2 separate regions of the Homo sapiens genome follow, and region 2 is linked to region 1. Evidence: promoter capture Hi-C in human tissues and cell types (Jung and others, 2019). All regions are on one chromosome and are shown on one strand. Each heading gives the region's core, a stretch centred on a gene start or on the middle of the fragment in contact. The rest is flanking DNA. Distances are from core to core; before and after follow the strand shown.

What was found. The method cuts DNA at HindIII sites, captures the fragments that hold promoters and counts their contacts. A contact is called where the count stands out against the background at its distance.
Region 2: a fragment that was not itself captured here is called in contact with the fragment with the promoter of U2AF2 in region 1 in 1 of the 25 tissues and cell types used here (H1 embryonic stem cells).

What each region holds. Positions count from the first base shown.
Region 1 is chr19:55,653,749-55,656,448 of GRCh38, forward strand. U2AF2 (U2 small nuclear RNA auxiliary factor 2) reads left to right here and starts at 1,287. Exons shown (of 12, transcript NM_007279.3): 1 at 1,287-1,405. The coding sequence starts at 1,357. RefSeq lists enhancers at 413-1,082, 2,033-2,112 and silencers at 1,133-1,182, 1,273-1,322, 1,533-1,672. The HindIII fragment of the contact is 13,132 bases long and covers 1-2,092 here.
Region 2 is chr19:54,321,379-54,324,078 of GRCh38, forward strand. No RefSeq gene overlaps it. Among named protein-coding and RNA genes, the nearest start is that of LILRA5, 9.6 kb to the left of the region's middle. The HindIII fragment of the contact is 5,873 bases long and covers 1-2,700 here.

The DNA of each region.
Region 1 (2,700 bases), core at 37-2,536:
TGACCTCTAGCGAGGGAGGCCACCTAGCGGCCAGGCCAAGTCTGGAGGATACTTCCGTTGGGCCGCCAGGGGGCAGTAACGCCAGATCATCTGTCTCCCGGAAGTAATGCCAGATGATCCGTCTGCCGCGCCTGCGCGGCGGGAAGAGCCGGAGCGCGTTGATGTGGTTGCCGAGACAACCAAGAGGGTGGCCGGATTTAACGGCTGGGGATTAAGCACTTTCACCGTTGTAAGGGAAATCTCGCGCACGCGCAATGGGGACTGAAACCTGGTCCCCGCAACCCCCTTCACGGGAGCAGTGGGAGAGCGCGCCACAGAACGACTTTTACGCAGGCGCAGAAGCCTGTTTCCCCTCACCCGCGGCTTCCACCCTGCGCAGGCGCAAAAAGCCGCGCTGGCAACCTCCGCAGCGGTCGCGCGCACCCTTCATCCCTCTTGCTGCTTTTGTCTGGCACAACCTTCTCAGGCCCTCCGCGAGGCCGGCCCTTTTTTTCTTTCACTTTCCCCACCCGGAGAGCCAGGTGCCGAGAACTAGGACCTCGTCCCCTTCTCTATCCCTTCCCCTGATCCATCTCGTCTCTGTTCTCCTTCCCTTTTCCGTTCCCGAAGCCGGAAGGAGCCGAGGTACCCACGGAAAAAGTCGAAGCTGTCCCCGGAGAGTGAGGCCTTCACGAAGCGGTGGCGGAAGGAGCCGAAGTTCTCTGATCGGAGGCGTGAGCAAGTGGCATCTCCGGAAAGAGCCGAAACACGGACTCGAGCTTAATCCCAGGAGGGGCCCGAGGGCGAGATCCGGAAATCTCCGGAAAGAGCCGAAGGCCGGGACGGTTAGGATTGTCGGAAGTGGCCGATTGCTTGGACAGGGCCGGCGGAGAAGATCGGAGCAAGTCCGTGGAAGAAGCCAAAGACTGGGACGGATTGAATTGTTGGAAGAACCCGAACTCGCAGAGGGGACTGGGCGCAGTGGCACACGAGGACACACGGAAACCTCCGAACGTTGAGGAGATAATCTCGGAAAAGTTACGGAAACCTGGGAAGTCGGCGAAACCCTACGTTCGGGTGTTTTCGGAAGCAGCCGAAGCGGCCGCCTGCTTCGCCTTCGTCCAGTATCCGGAGATAGCCGAGGCGCTTCGGAGCCAGGCTCGGGGGGAGGGGCAAGCTCGCGGGCGGGCGGGCGGGTGAGGGGGCGGAGCCCGGGCGGGGCGGGGAGGGCTGCCGGAGGCTTGATTAGGTAGGAGGTGGCGAAGCGCCGGCGGCGGCCGGAAGTAGCCGAAGCCAGCGGCGGAAGTAGCCGAAGCGGCTGGAGCGGGCGGCAAGGCGAGGCGAAAGCTGCACAGGGCCCTACGCGGCCGCCTCAGCATGTCGGACTTCGACGAGTTCGAGCGGCAGCTCAACGAGAATAAACAAGGTGAGGGCACCGGGGTCGCGGGGCGGAGGTGTGGGCGGCTCCTCGCGTCGCTCTTTGCCCCCCCGCCATTTTCTCCCTCGCTTCCCCCCACTTCACGGCCGCGCGGCGCCCCCCAACCCTGGTTCCGTGGCGCGCGCCTCGTTCACGTGACGTCCCCAGCGTTCCGCCGCGCGCTAGGCGAGGGGAAGGGGGCGGCGGGGCGCGGGCCCGTGACGCATGCGCACGGCGGCTGTCCCTGCGCCCCACGTGGTCCTGGCGGAGGTGGCGCGGGGGACGCGGCACGAGCGCGCCAGATGCCTCGACGTGAACTTTTGTTTTTTAAAATCTTTTTGGTTTCTCTGAAAAGGAGATTATGTTAGTCCCCGTAATCTCTTTTCTCCCGCTGCCTTGGCACTTCCGCTTCCGGTCGGGCCCACGGCAGCGTCTCCACGCCCCCTTTGTTTCCAAAATGGCGGTTGTGAGAACTTGGTGGGGGGGCCCCTTTCCTTCCTTCACGTGGATGAGGGCAGAGCCGTTTCGGCGGATGCTTGGAGGCCACGGGCCCCTCGCGTACCCCTTTTCCTTTTTGCTGATTTGCTCTGATCTCTCCCGCCAGGTGGTTTCTGCCCCGTCTGTTGGTAGTGGGGCGCCTCATATTAACGTGTTTGGCACATGTTGCCTAAAAGCATCTGCATTCTTTGAGTGTCCGCACGCACACATCCTGCATATGCGGGGCTTTTGGCGGTCCCGAGAATCGCGATATGGAGTGTTTGAGACAAACCTCAAATCATTTACAATCCCAATCTCAGGGCACCTGATAATACTCAGTCTCAGATCTCAATATAGAGATAAGAAAACAGGTTCTGAGGGAGGAAGAGGGATCTGGCCCACTGCGCTAAACTCTTCACTTACGGGGAAGGTGGGAGGCAGGTTCCCTTCAGGGTATCGAAAATTGTGATGGGTTAGAACAAAAAGCCTGGGGCCCTGATCTTAGGGATTCCAATAATATTAGAAGTGGGAGAGTTGTTAAGACGCTTTAAAAATCCTCCGTGTTTCAGTTTGTGAAGAAATACAGGACCAGGGAAGATTGGAGACTTGTTTCTTTTCAGGCTTCAGCTGCCCATGTTCCTAGCTCGTTCGGAGGACGAAATGAGGGCTGAGGAATTTTCCTTTGAACCCGGGCTAGAGTTGGGTAGGGGCTGTATTAGGAAACAGTGTCCTGGGGAAGCAATAACGTTTACTGAGGGTCTGACTCTGTCTTAGTTGATGGACTGCTCAAGAGCATAGGCTTTGGAGTTGAGCACATCAGGAAGTTT
Region 2 (2,700 bases), core at 129-2,628, 1.3 Mb before region 1:
AGGATTTGGGTAGGTAAAGGAAAAAGAGGGGTTGTTCTCTGGTGGGCAGGTGTGGGGGTCACAAGGTGCTCCGTAGAGGAGCTTTTGAGCCAGGATGAGCCAGGAGAAGGAATTTCACAAGATAATGTCATCAGTTAAGGCAGGAACAAGCCATTTTCACTTCTTTTGTGGTGGAATGTCATCAGTTAAGGCAGGAACCAGCCATCTGGATGTGTATGTGCAGGTCACAGGGGATATGATGGCTTAGCTTGGGCTCAGAGGCCTGACACCCAGAAAATGCCTTTTTCTCACGAAACTCATTATTCCAGGTGAATACAAACATTAAGAACAAACTTGTACAATTACAAAGCTATTTATTCCAAAATTATGATTTGTAAAACTACAATGACTTGAACCCACTTAATTTCAATCAAAGAAAGACTCAATAAATTCCTGGGCCTCCCCACAGTGGAGTCCTGGGCAGCTGTGGGTGAGATGAATGAGTTATCTTGAAGGCTGACCTTCCAAGACGTGTAGTTGTGTAGTTGGGGTGGCAGGGAGAAAAGAAAAAGAAAGATTCAGGACGTTATCAACAGTTAACTTTATTTTACTCAGAACCAGAGAAAAATGGTATAGTGTTATGTCATTGTGTGTGTATTTTGTAATCTATTTTTTAAAATGAAAGATTAATCAATACCTTTAAAAGTGGGTAGTTGAGAGAGAGAGAGAAAACAGTGCAGAGGAGACAGAATAAAGCTAGACTGACATCATTGTGTCTTGTTTCTTGTTTTGGTATAGAAATATAAACATACCTTTGGGAGGCTGAGGTGGGCGAATCGCAAGATCAGGAGTTCAAGACCAGCCTGGCCAACATGGTGAAACCCCACCTCTACTGAAAATAAAAAGATTAGCTGGGCATGGTGGCACACTCCTGTCATCCCAGCTACTCGGGAGGCTCTGACAGGAGAATTGCTTGAACCTGGGAGGTGGAGATTGCAGTGAGCTGAGACTGTGCCACTGCATTTGTAGGGACCAGCCCCACAGGGTCGGTGGGTCTCTCCCTGTGTGTGGTGACGATAGAGTGTAGAAATAAAGACACAAGACAAAGAGATAAAAGAAAAGGCAGCTGCGCCCGGGGGACCACTACCACCAATGCGCGGAGACCGGTAGTGGCCCCGAATGTTGGGCTGCGCTGTTATTTATTGGATACAAGGCAGAAGGGGCAGGGTAAAGAGTGTGAGTCACCTCCAATGATAGGTAAGGTCACGTGGGTCACGTGTCCACTGGACAGGGGGCCCTTCCCTGCCTGGCAGCCGAGGCAGAGAGGGAGAGGAGACAGAGAGAAAGACAGCTTACGCCATTATTTCTGCATATCAGGGACTATTAGTACTTTCACTAATTTACTACTGCTATCTAGAAGGCAGAGCCAGGTGTACAGGATGGAACATGAAGGCGGACTAGGAGCGTGACCACCGAAGCACAGCATCACAGGGAGACGGTTAGGCCTCCGGATAACTGCGGGCGAGCCTGACTGATGTCAGGCCCTCCACAAGAGGTGGAGGAGCAGAGTCTTCTCTAAACTCCCCCGGGGAAAGGGAGACTCCCTTCCCCAGTCTGCTAAGTAGCGGGTGTTGTTCCTTGCCACTTACGCTACCGCTAGACCACGGTCCGCTTGGCAACGGACGTCTTCCCAGACGCTGGCGTCACCGCTAGACCAAGGAGCCCTCTGGTGGCCCTGTCCGGGCATGACAGAGGGCTCGCACTCTTGTCTTCTGGTCACTTCTCACTGTGTCCCCTCAGCTCCTATCTCTGTATGGCCTGGCTTTTCCTAGGTTATGATTACAGAGGGAGGATTATTATAATATTGGGATAAAGGGTAACTGCTACAAACAAATGATTAATGATATTCATATATAATCATAACTAAGATCTATATCTGGTATAACTATTCTTGTTTTATATTTTATTATACTGGAACAGCTCGTGTCCTCTGTCTCTTGCCTCGGCACCTGGGTGGCTTGCCACCCACAGCATTCTAGCCTGGGCGACGAGCAAGACTCCGTTTAAAAATATATATATATACATATATAAACATATTCCTGAATGTCTATACTATAAAATATTTTTAAATATAACTTATAAATCTAAAGATAATACCTTAAAAAAGGAAATAGAATTGAGTTCCTATCAAATTAGGGCATTACTAAACAAGGAAGAATTATTTGTACTAGAATGTAAGCAAAATTACTTGACCATATATTTTATAATGCATATATTATTTATCATATTATATAATAAATGTATACTTTTAAATCAAATTATATATTATGTAGTGACATATAGTTAATATTATTATATAATTTTGACTATATATAGTAAAACATAAGTGAATACACCCTCAAAAATGTTTAATTCTTAAAATATGTATGGTCAAAAATTCTAAATTTCATCCTAGAGAAATAGCTGACTCCACATTCGGAGAGAAAATACAGGAGATGAAGTCAGAACTTCTTATCATGCAAGAAAGCAAAGACATCACCACATACCATCAGATTCATGTTACCTGAACATAAAGTCTATCATGAAAAGTTCCCAATGGCAAAATGTGGAATATTTATAGAATCAAATAATATAGGTAGTGTATTAAAACTAATGAATATGTTCAAAGCCTATCAGTTTACTACTGTTAAAAACAAAATTAAAAAACAAAAAACCCCTCAA